Linked DNA regions of Homo sapiens: region 1 is linked to region 2. The links are contacts of gene promoters, found by promoter capture Hi-C in blood cells and fetal thymus (Javierre and others, 2016). All regions are on one chromosome and are shown on one strand. Each heading gives the region's core, a stretch centred on a gene start or on the middle of the fragment in contact. The rest is flanking DNA. Distances are from core to core; before and after follow the strand shown. Region 1 overlaps BOD1L1 (biorientation of chromosomes in cell division 1 like 1). Region 2 holds the start of DCAF16 (DDB1 and CUL4 associated factor 16).

Region 1 (5,779 bases), core at 114-2,613, 4.2 Mb after region 2:
CAGTAGGCATGAGCCACCGCGCCCGGTCGAGGGTTTTCTCATAGTATGTTTAGTTGTTCTGAGGAGCTTTGTATCTTTGAGAAATGCATGTTTACAACATCCACAGTTTCTTCTAAAGCTTTCAGGTGAACTGCACACAGTTCCACTATGTCTTCTGGGGAAACTCTTGAATATCCTGGTACATCTTCCTTTATAAGGACTCATACTGGGCCCACTATGTAAAACGTGGTTTTTCGGGATATTGGAGGTTTTGCACCACAGAGAATTCAATTCACTTGGGAGTGTTCATCTATTTAGGAAGTATAGTTTTTTTTACTTTTGTCTTCAGGAATATGCACTGCTACCTTTTAGAAATAATTTCTATTGCCTTTATTATTTTTGTTGTTATTTAATGGGAAAAGGTTAGACATGGCCAGGTAAATGTTATCAAATAAAGTTAGTTATTCGTATTCAACAAGTGGAATTTTTACTTTGCTGTTCTCAGAAACCCATGAATCTGTGTGTTCTCAGAAACCCATGAATCATTATGTATACAAATTAAAAATTGTAATGTACTGCTGCAATGTCTGAGGCTCAACTTTTTTATTATCCTATTCCCACAAAATGTTATTGGTATGTGTCTATAATATCCCTGCCAGACCCTTCAAAGTAAAGGATTAAAACCTTTTTTGGAGGGAAGGAGGGAAGCACAGTATCTCTGATCATCTAATGAAAGTTAGGACCTTCTCTCAAGAAAAATGCGCAAGTAACACATTAAAACGCTGTTTTTCTACTTCAGAATGGTCAACTATAGGCAATTTCATGAGAATCAATCTAATAACATATACAGTTTCAGTGAGTTCAGGAACCATGGAATAAGAACCTATTTTAATGTTCTTAGCCTCTTTTTTGAGGTCAAGAATTGAATGATATTGTTACAACAAAACTCTTCCATTCCGAGGCACAGTACTTGTTTATATGAACAAGGTTTCTCAGGGCGCATGACTATAAAAATTAGAAATAGGAATAGAATTGATGATCAACCCTTCTTCTAGTAATAAGACATATTCAGCCACAGATGCAGGAACTTTAAAAAGCAACAGTATGGCCAGGCCCGGTGGCTCATGCCTGGCCACCGTGGGCCAAAGTAGAAGATTCCCTGTTCATGCAAAGAACCATCACTTTAATGGAATCCTTGAGTTTCATCTGCCACTTGAACCTCAAAGACTGACCTGCTTTCTGTCAAAAAGTCTTAACTTGTAGCATATAGAGTTATAGTGGATTATGTCTGTCACGTGCATATTTAAGAATGAAGACATTTGATACCTGCCAGGTGCTAAGAGCAAAACTGTCATCCAGTTTAGTGTGTTTAAACCAGGATGAGAAGTACCAAAGTCTGCTGCTACACCAGAAGACCACAGAACCCTGGTCTTCTGGGAGGCCGAGGTGGGTGGATCATTAGAGGTCAGGAGTTCGAGGCCAACCTGACCAAAATGGTGAAACCCCATCTCTAGTAAAAATACAAAAAAAGTAGCCATGTATGGTGGCACATGCCTGTAGTCCCAGCTACTCGGGAGGCTGAGGCAGGAGAATTGCTTGAAGCCAGGAGACAGAGGTTGCAGTTAGCCGAGATTGTGCCAGTGCACTCCAGCCTGGGAGACAGAACAAGACTTGGTCTAAAAAACAAAAATTTTTAAAAAGCAACAATACACATTTTTCAATACAGTTGCATATACTATTTAATAATTATGAAAATTTCTAATATTTCTGTTGCTTTGAGAAATTAGAACTGAAATGACACCCTCCCAGACAAAAAAGAACACTCAGCTATGGTTGAAGTTCTGGTGCTCAGACGCTAGCTTAAACTCTCCCACAAAATCTCTCTCTCTCTCCCCCTCCCTGCCACTAACCTCTGTACCTGCTCCTGGTTATGTTACAGGTTATGTTCTGGTACTTCCTTTACCCCATGACTCTCTCCTTCTCTTCTACTCCCTTAGTTAGCAATTAGGTAGATTTTAATTTGATTTAAAAGATTTGTTCTCATTGAATACCATTTTATACTTCATTTTCTTATTTGAAAAAAAAAAAAATATATTCCCCCCTGCTTCCCAAAAAGCCAAAGTTTTCTTCATCAGAACATAACATTCATATCAATATGATGAGTGGGCCAAAGTAGAAGATTCCCTGTTCATGCAAAGAACCATCACTTTAATGGAATCCTTGAGTTTCATCTGCCACTTGAACCTCAAAGACTGACCTGCTTTCTGTCAAAAAGTCTTAACTTGTAGCATATAGAGTTATAGTGGATTATGTCTGTCACATGCATATTTAAGAATGAAGACATTTGATACCTGCCAGGTGCTAAGAGCAAAACTGTCATCCAGTTTAGTGTGTTTAAACCAGGATGAGAAGTACCAAAGTCTGCTGCTACACCAGAAGACCATAGAACCCCCCTCCAAACTGTCCAGGGTCATTGATAGTCCTTAACCAGGAGAGAGATCTGACTGTAACAGACCAAATCAGCCCTTCCCACCCAAAGAAATGGAACCATGGGCAACCCTAAGCTCCAACTACTGCAAAGACTCCTCCGTTATAGACTACCAGTTTCCAGATCTCTGGAGCAAGCTTAGTGGTTACAAAGCCATTCTGTCTCCTTTGCACTGATTAGCATCTGGAGCGTGTGAGGAGGGATGATCAAGAGGCCCTTCAGGGAGCTCGCCAGCCAGGTAAATATGGTACCTCTCTTGTCAAGTAAGAAAGTCTGATTTTTTGGACACTTTCTTAGTTATAAATGGCCCCTGGTCAATTTATTCACCCAACAAACATTCATTGAGCAACTCTTATGTACCAGTCATTTTTTTAGGTGCCAGGGATACAGCAGTGAACCAAACATCCCACTGTTATGGAGCTTACATCCTAGTAGAAAAAAAAAATAGACAACAAGTAATGTATGGTAGGTCCTATGGAAAAAAGCAAGATGAGGGATGGATGGGCTTACTGTTTTATTTCGAATAAGCTGTTCAGGGTAGGTTTCAATGTGATGATACTTGAGCCATCTGTGAAGGAATTGAAGGGGCAATGCAGCTGTCTGGGGCTTGAGCATTCCAAGAAGAGAGCATAGCAAGTATAGAAGAGCTGAGACAGACCCACTAAGGGGAAAGTGACAAGAGGTGAGGTAGGTATGCCTTCACAGATCTGGCAGGTCTTGGGAGCCATCAGAAGACCTTGGCTTTTACTCGAGCTCAGAAGCCATTGGCAGGTTTTGAGCAAAAGAAGGACATGATCTGACTTCCATTTCAGATGGGTTGACCACGTGTAATAGCTTCCCCTTTCTTGCTAAGTTGTGATTTGAATGGGTCAATAAATTACATGGTTACCTGATTTTTAGAAGACAACTTTGTTGTAGGTAAGGATAGAATTCTGCATGAGGCCAGTTGTTATAATTCAGACAGATGAGAATGCCTTGGAACAGATTGAGGTCAGTAAAGGTAGTGGGAAGTGGTCAGATTCTGGGTGTATTTTCATGCTACTGTTGAGAGAATTTGCTAATAGTATGCATGTGAAGTAGAAGACAAAGGGAGGACTCAAGGATAACTCTAAGGCTTTTCACCAAAGCACTGGAAAAGGAAGAAAGGGTGGAAGTATGTGTAATATATGTGTGTGTGTATATATGTGTACATGTGGGTACATACATGTTCCTAGGAGAATACTTCTCAATGAATACTTAATATTTCTCTAGTTGCTCAACTTTTTACTGAAAGGAGAGCTTGAAAACAAGGAAAATTACCTGTTGAGTAGTTCAGATTTGAACTTGTTCTGGGAAGACTAGACTAGAATGCCAAATGCATTGTGATGTTAGAGCCTAATGAATGTGTGTTAGATTTGGGAATACCGGAAAGAAGAATTAGGCTTTAGAATCATTGGGGAGAAAGAATTAAGAATTAGTTTTAGGGCTGGGTATGGTGGCTGACACCTGTAATCCCAGCACTTTGGGAGGCCGAGAAAGGTGGATCACTTGAGGTTAGGAGTTCAAGACCAACATGGCCAATATAGCAAGACCTTGTCTCCACTAAAAATACAAAAATTAGCCAGGTGTGGTGGCGCATGCCTGTAGTCCCAGCTACTCAGGAGCCTGAGGCACTAGAATCACTGGAACCCGGCAGGTGGAGGTTCCAGTGAGCCGAGATCACACCACTGTACTCTAGCATGGGCAATCGAGCAAGACTCTGCCAAAAAAAAAAAAAAAAAAGAATTAATTTTAGTTCATATCGATTTTGGATAAATGGACAGGCACATAGGAAATGATCATGTAGGACAGGAAATAAGTATCAGCAAAGGCCTGAAAATTGGAACTGATGAAAGGGCATCAGAGGGATAAAATGTTTGTCATTCTGTGTTAGAGATAGTTACCCATTCAGCTAACAAGTATATTTTAATTGCTCATTTGCCAAGCAGTGTGATAGGCTATATGAAAACAAATTGTAAGAGAGATAGAGGAGGAGGCTTACACATCAATGGAGGATAAATATGCCTTGCTTCCGAAAATACAATGTAGTGCAAGAATTGCTCGAATGGTAGCATGTATAGAAAACAGTAGGAGCGTGGATGAAGAGCCCATAAGCCTACCTTCGGTGTCAAGATGATTTCACAGATTAGGGTGAGCTCTGAAGGTGAGAAGTTTGTCAGATGGACAACCAGAGGGAATGGTAGTTGCAGGATGGTAGGTGCAGATATGAGAATTTCTCACTGGAGTGTAAACTTTGAAGCTAAAAGGAGGCAAATGGCAGAAGGTGAGGCTATACAGTGCTTGCTTAATATCAGTCAGGGACACTCAAACTCATCCACATTAAAAGCTGTATAGAAGAAAGGTAGAAAGAACATCAGTGTTGGGAGACAGCCTCTAGAAATGGAGTGCAGTGCTGAGTGCTTGGTCACATATTCCTTCCAGGCAATGCCCCTTCAGGTAGAGATGATGTAATATGTGTTCCCCTCCATGTTCCCCTCAGGGAGCACATCAAGGGTTCTCAGACTCAGCACTGTCGACATTTGGGGCTGGATAGTTCTTTGCTGTCGGGGGATTGTCCTATGCATTGTAGGATCTTCAGTAGCATCCTTGCCCTTGACCCACTAGATGCCAATAGCACTCTCATCAGTTGTAACAACCTAAAATGTCTCCAGACATTGCCAAGCGTCCCTTGGGGGATGAGAGTGAAATCCTTCTTGGTAGAGAACCATTGCCTTACCTCAGATTTAATGCCTAGTTCAAGTAGTTGTCCCTCAATAATTTCTCTTGGGTCTATGCCATTAGCTGGTTTCTGCCACCCCAGTAAAGACCTTCCTCACTGTAGTTTATTGCATGCTTTCCTAAAGTATTTTGTGTCTCTTTACTCTTGCACTGTAGGATGATTAACCATCAGAAAGCTTAGCTGTTCTATCACTCTGCCCATATGTGCAGTGGGCTCCCATTCTCTACCCTGTAATTCCAAACTTGTACAAGTAACCAAAGCTTTTTAGCACCTGGCCCCAACCTCTCTGTCTTAACCTCATTTCTCTGCTTTTTGTATTCTCTTCTATAGCCAAATTGGACCACCAATTTGGAGGCTCACTAAATGCTCCTGGCCTCCAGTTTGCTCATCCACTTGCTCTTTGTTTACATTGACTGTATGAGCAAAGCCAGCCATTCTCATTCCCAGCTTCCTTGTGCAATTGATTTTTCCAGCTCAAATGGCACATTTTCAGTGAAGGCATGCTTCCTCAGCTCTTCTCCCTTTTTTACTCCAAATCATCTAATAATAACACT
Region 2 (5,841 bases), core at 467-2,966:
GGCAAAATTTTCTAAAATCCCTCCCCAAAGCTATCATTTTCATAGTACCTTTAAGAGAAAAGTAAACAAATAATTTAAAAGGCCACCATCTTCCTCTTCCTCATCATCTTCCATATCTGATTGGTGAAATGAGGTAACAAACTTTGCTGCAAATTCTATTACCCTCTCCACAGCTGGTTCACGTTTATAGACCACCATAACATATTTAAGGTAATGAATGAACTCCTCATGAAAAACTGTCTTATCATCCATCTGAAAGACAAAAGAAACCCTTCATAAACTGCACCGATAAAAATCCTTTATTCCCAACATCACCCTAAGACTGATGAAAGCACTAGCCATAATAATGCAGACAAATTAAAATATTTATTTAGTAAACTCTTAATTATCCAAACCAGCCAAAGGGCAATCAATTTGCATGAATTTCTCTCCAGGCTATAATGGGAGTACACAAGCTTGACTTTTGACAGTGAAAAGATTCCTTTGATATATTTTTTTCAATATCTTTGATTCTCAATAAGCCTTTAGTACCAGTACGTTACAAATACGCTTCTTCAACAACCCAAAATCAATACTGGCTTTTATATTTCTCATATTCAGGCCTTCCTATCACCAGCAGTTTCTTTATGAGATAACTTGCACATCCTATCTCATATCCTCAAAGCCCTGTGATGTTTACTCACAATTTTTCTTGGACCTCAAGATAATTCATCTTCCCCAAATTAATTGTTCTATTCTTCTCAAGGTTCCACTCAAAACAAACAAATAGTATGTACATAAATAAGAATGGCCAGGCCCTAAAAATAATTTGGTATTTGGTGATTGGATTCAACGTAACCGTAGGACAAGGGTAGAATCATTTGATGTTCGGCGGGGAGCGATGACCCCAGGGGCAACGACCACTGAACCCCCGCATTCAGGATCCACTCTGCGGTTCAATATTTGATGTCTGATCGCCTCGGTGGTCGTAAATGTTTCTCTCCACGTTCACGATCGGACTAAGGAATAACGGTCCACGCCGCCCAGAAGCTGGGGGTGTCGGCTCAGAAAAGCCAAGGCGGGGCCCGTGTGAACGACGCCCAGGCTTCGGAGGCTTTCTGGCCTGGGCCCAGGCGACCTCGGGTAAGTCCCTGACTTCTCCGAACCTCAGATCCCTATGAAGTGAGTCGCGAAGGTGAACAAGGCTGGAGTCACGGTGCGCCGAGCCCGAGGGCCACGGAGGGCCCCTGAGGGAGGGTGGGCCGGGGCGGGCGAGAGGCGGCGGCCGGGGCCGGGAGCGCTTACCGTGCGGTAGGTGCGGCTCAGCGCCACCACCAGCTTCGCCTGGTTCTGGTGCGGCTGCTGCGCCAGCCGAAAGGCCTCCTTAATCGACAGCAGCCTCCTTTCCGCTCCCATGGCTCTGGAACCCTGCCGGGACGAGTCCTGCCCGCGCTCGGCTACAGCCTGCCAGCCCGCCAACCCAGAGGCAGCGCTCTCCGAGTAGTCTTCTATGACAGCCCCAGGGAGTATTTACCGCTCGAACGTTCAAATAATTCCCGCGAGAGGGGGAAATCCCGCGAGACTGCCGTAAGCGCTTTGGGAGAAGAGAGCGGGAAGCGATGGGTCCACCCACCTCGCACCCCGCGCTTTGGGCGCATGCGTCTAGGTTCAACCTTGTCCAGCCGTTTTCACGGAGGGAAGTGGCGTTTCTAAGGGGGAGGGGCCTTGACTCGGCCGGAAGTAGCGTCGGCGCGGGAGCTGAGCGGAGTGGCCTTGCCACCGGAGGGGAAGGGCTGCTGGCGTTAGGCCTGGCTGGGTCGTGCGGCTGAGCGTGAGGCTAGAAAGAAAAAGCGATCCTCCAAGAGTGAGAACGGGAGATCTGCCGAGGATAACAACCTCCCTTGTGGCCGAAGGGCGGGGGATCCCCACACGAGGGCTCCGCTTCGAGAGACGGCGACAAAGGAAAGTTCGTAGCGCGTTCCGGAGGCCCGGCCACCTCTGAGAAGGGAGACGACGCTGCTGGGTCCGCTGAGCGGGGCGACCCGAGGTTAGTGGAGACGGATGCTGTCTTTTGAAGGCCTTAGTCCCTGCCCTGGTGAAGCCGACTGCGAGGTTCCACAGGGCGTGCAGGCAGTCCGGGGATCGTTGCGAAGGGGGGTGCGGGCTAACTTAGCTGCTGCCGTTTCTAGATGTGCAGCTGTGTAGGCCCTGTTTACAAGTGTGCATAAGGACAGTGTATTAAGGGAGAACTCAAGAGAATGGAAAGGTCTTTCGGGTAGTGGTTAAAATAAAGAAGAGTAGGAACTAGGTTTTTAAATTTTAAATGAAATTATATCAGACAGAACTTCTGTTGGATCTCAGGATGCACCATCCAAAAATAGGACTGTAGGAGACCAAAATATGCCACCCTACAATATACTTCTAGAGTATATTTTGAGCTGGTATTCTGATAAAATGCAGACACAGGAGTCGCTCTGAAAATCTGTCCTGTTGTAAAAGAAATTGACATCTACAGAGGAAATATACATCAGTAAAGGATCTGTATCAGAAAGAGGGCAGCTCTGCGATAATTTTTGTTACCTGGGAGATCTTATCTGCATACCAAGACAACTTTTATTCACCGTATATTTCCTCCCCTCACCTTTCCACAACTTTGTGGCCACCATCCCCCAGAAAGCCGCAAGCCCCCATTTCTTGAGTAGCGTAGGATGCTGTATAATATTCAATCATCTGACCATGGTGGGACTCCTCTGCGTATGTAATTAAGTACGGGTTTTTTTTCTTGTTAATGTCTATGTCAGGTTAATTTGTAACCCAGCCAAAGAACCTAGGAGGATGGAGGGAAGCCGTTTTTCCCTCTCCTACACCTCAGTAACCTACTGCCAGCTGAAGAAATAGAACATTACTAAAGCCACCTGTACATCTTTCTCCTTTTGAATTACCTGCCCTCCGAAGAAGTAATGGATTTTCTGAATTTACTGTTAACTTTTACCATGCAGCTTTCTATATCTTAATGACATATTTTAATATATTAATGACATGAATAAATCCCTGAATGAGGATATTGTACTATTTTGCATGTTTTAACCGTTAAATGAATAATTATATGTGCATCTGGCTTTTTTCAATCAATATTGCTGTGGTTCATATTGATATGTTCATAATAGTAACTTGCACTTAATTAACCTTTATTATGTGCCAGACACCATGCTAAGCACTTTACTTCGTTTACTGCTCACAAACCCTGTAGGATAACTTTGATCTTCTTTTAAGATGAGGAAACTACGGCACAGACAGGTTGCTATAGTACTCCATTGTATTAATATGCCATACCTTATCCATTCTCCTGCTTAATTCCTCAAACTTTGTAGATATTCAGCTGCTAGTTAAGAATGTGGTAACATTTGTGTTGCCCATAATTTTGCTTTGTGACGTTTCTAATATATATTTTTTTATTTTTATTTTGAGACAGAGTCTTGCTCTGTCGCCCAGGCTGGAGTGCAATGGCGCGATCTCGGCTCACTGCAACCTCTGCCTCCCGGGTTGAAGCGATTCTCCCGCCTCAGTCTCCCAAGTAGCTGGGTTACAGGCATGCACCACCACACCTGGCTAATCTTTTGTATTCTTAATAGAGACGGGGTTTCGCCATGTTGGCCAGGCTGGTCTCGAACTCCTGACCTCAGGTGATCCACCCGCCTTTGCCTCCCAAACTGTTGGGATTACAGGCGTGAGCCACCGCGCCCGGCTAGTATTTCTTTACTATATTCTATTTGGCTGTCTCACCAACAGAGACATCACACCATTTTGTCAGTTACAGAAGAATGAGACATCTGGCCGCCAGAGGTCAGCCTAACTATATTTCGGTTAGTTTTTTTTTTTGTTTTGTTTTGTTTTAATGGTTAAAGCCATGGGGGTATTGGTTCAGTATTTTTTGATATTATAATCTGAAAATATTTTTTCAAAGGTGCTAGATTAAATTTAAACAACATAGTATACTGCCTTAAAGCTTACATTTTTCCTGACTTTTGTACTGTGAAACAGAACAAAAACAATTATGGGAAAGTAAGAGCCTTTTTAAAAATTTTCTGAGTAACATAATAACTGAAGTATAGCCAATTAGTAATCTCACAGGTGCAATCTGGTTGAAGTGAAAATAGTAAAAATATTAGAGGACAGCACAATTAAAAGCCAACAGCTTCTCCTGTCTCAGTTAATAAAGACTTACGGTCCACGACAAAGAATGAATACTCTTTTTCAGATTGAACAAGGTAATAGTACTATAATCTAAACTTAGAAGTATTACATTGTTTCTTCTTAAAGTTATAAGCAGTTTCCTTTATATTGCTGTAGTAGCATCATATATGTTGATCCTGCCTTAAAAAAATTATCTCATTTGTCTTTGTCTAACATTACCAAATCACCAAGATATAACTTGGAACTGTTCTCTCCCTGGAGTAAAATAGAACATGCTTGTGGTAGTTACTTACTGCAGGCCTTTGCCATTCTCTGACTCTTTTATTTACTGAGCCACTCATATATGCCAGACACTGTGCTAGGAGTGTGTGAAAGCCAGAGAAATACTCATTAGAGGAAAATTGCTGACCTGAAGCCATACCATATGACCTTATTAGCACAACTCAGTGTATTCGATAATGAAAATGTTCACTGACTTTGATTTTGGAAATCCCCCCTACAGAGTAGCATAAACGAGACATTGATATTGTCTCTTTTCTCATTTAAAGCTATGCCTTTAAAGGCCACCCATGTTGCTGTATATACTTGGAATGTGTTTCCACATTTTACCAGTCCGCTTCTCCAGCGATAGGAACCTAGAATGCTTCTAATTCCTGTCATCACAGATGTAGCTTCAGGGTATATCTTCATACATGTTGTTCATACGGGAATTTCTTTGCTATCTATGCCCAAAAGTAGGATTGCTAGATCATGAGATGTGCAAATAGTTTGCCTAAGTAGTGCTGCCGGACTGTTCTTCCGAACAGTTACTCCACTCTGCAATCCCACCAGCAGTGCCAGTTCCAAAAAAGAACTCACTGACACTTGGTGTTATCCAGCTTTCTTATTCTACCAAACTGATAGCATAATGTGATCATATTGTTCATGCCTTGGGATTTTCTCTTCTATAATTTGGATATCTTTGTCCATTGCTCATTTCTTTATTGAAGTTGCTTTCTTAAAAATTGATTTAACTTTGTCCTTGGTATCTTTAGTTCAGTCCAGAAATGATTAATTGTGATGTGATTAAATTCATTTTTTGGTCTGGTGCTTTATGCTTTTTTGTTTAAGAAGTCTTTCCCTGGCCTCATTTCACAAAGATATTCTGTATTATATTTAACTAACTATATAGTTTTACCATCCCCATTTAGGTCTTTAATCCATCATGAATCCTCCCTTATACATGTCATTATATGTATATGTATTAAATGGTTTTACTTTTCATTTTTTTCTTAACCTTGTTCTTAATTTTTTCTTAATTCTTATTCCAATACAGTTTTACTTTTTTTCATATAATGAGCCAGTTGTACCAATAATATGTACTAAACATATCCATTCACCCTTAGTTTATGTGCCAACCTTATTTTATATTACATTCCCAAATTATATATAGCTCTGTTTCTAAGCTCTATTCTGCTCTATTGGACTATTGTCTGTTCTTATGCTAATCCTACCTTATTTTAATGTCTGTGACTTTAGTCATAGGACATACCTTGAAGAATAGGAACTCCCTTACTGTTTAAACAGTTCATTTGGCTATATGTGGAATTTTATTCTTTCTATATAAACTTTAAGGTTTGTTTATAGAGTTCCTTAAAAATTTGATTGGAATTGTATAAATTAATAGGG

The links. Contacts are between HindIII fragments. The CHiCAGO score rates a contact against its expected background, and 5 or more counts as called.
Region 1: a contact is called between a fragment that was not itself captured here and the fragment with the promoter of DCAF16 in region 2, in 1 of 17 cell types (non-activated CD4 T cells). The highest score is 9.4, in non-activated CD4 T cells.

Annotation. Positions count from the first base shown.
Region 1 is chr4:13,620,316-13,626,094 of GRCh38, reverse strand. The region is part of intron 1 of BOD1L1 (biorientation of chromosomes in cell division 1 like 1); the gene reads left to right. Among named protein-coding and RNA genes, the nearest start is that of BOD1L1, 4.5 kb to the left of the region's middle. The HindIII fragment of the contact is 2,486 bases long and covers 121-2,606 here.
Region 2 is chr4:17,806,632-17,812,472 of GRCh38, reverse strand. It overlaps DCAF16 (DDB1 and CUL4 associated factor 16), which reads left to right and starts at 1,716. Exons shown (of 3, transcript NM_017741.4): 1 at 1,716-2,026. It overlaps NCAPG (non-SMC condensin I complex subunit G), which reads right to left and starts at 1,494. Exons shown (of 21, transcript NM_022346.5): 1 at 1,285-1,494; 2 at 49-252. The coding sequence starts at 1,395. RefSeq lists enhancers at 1,023-1,535, 1,809-1,968, 1,536-2,047, 2,089-2,178, 3,798-3,947. The HindIII fragment of the contact is 3,530 bases long and covers 458-3,987 here.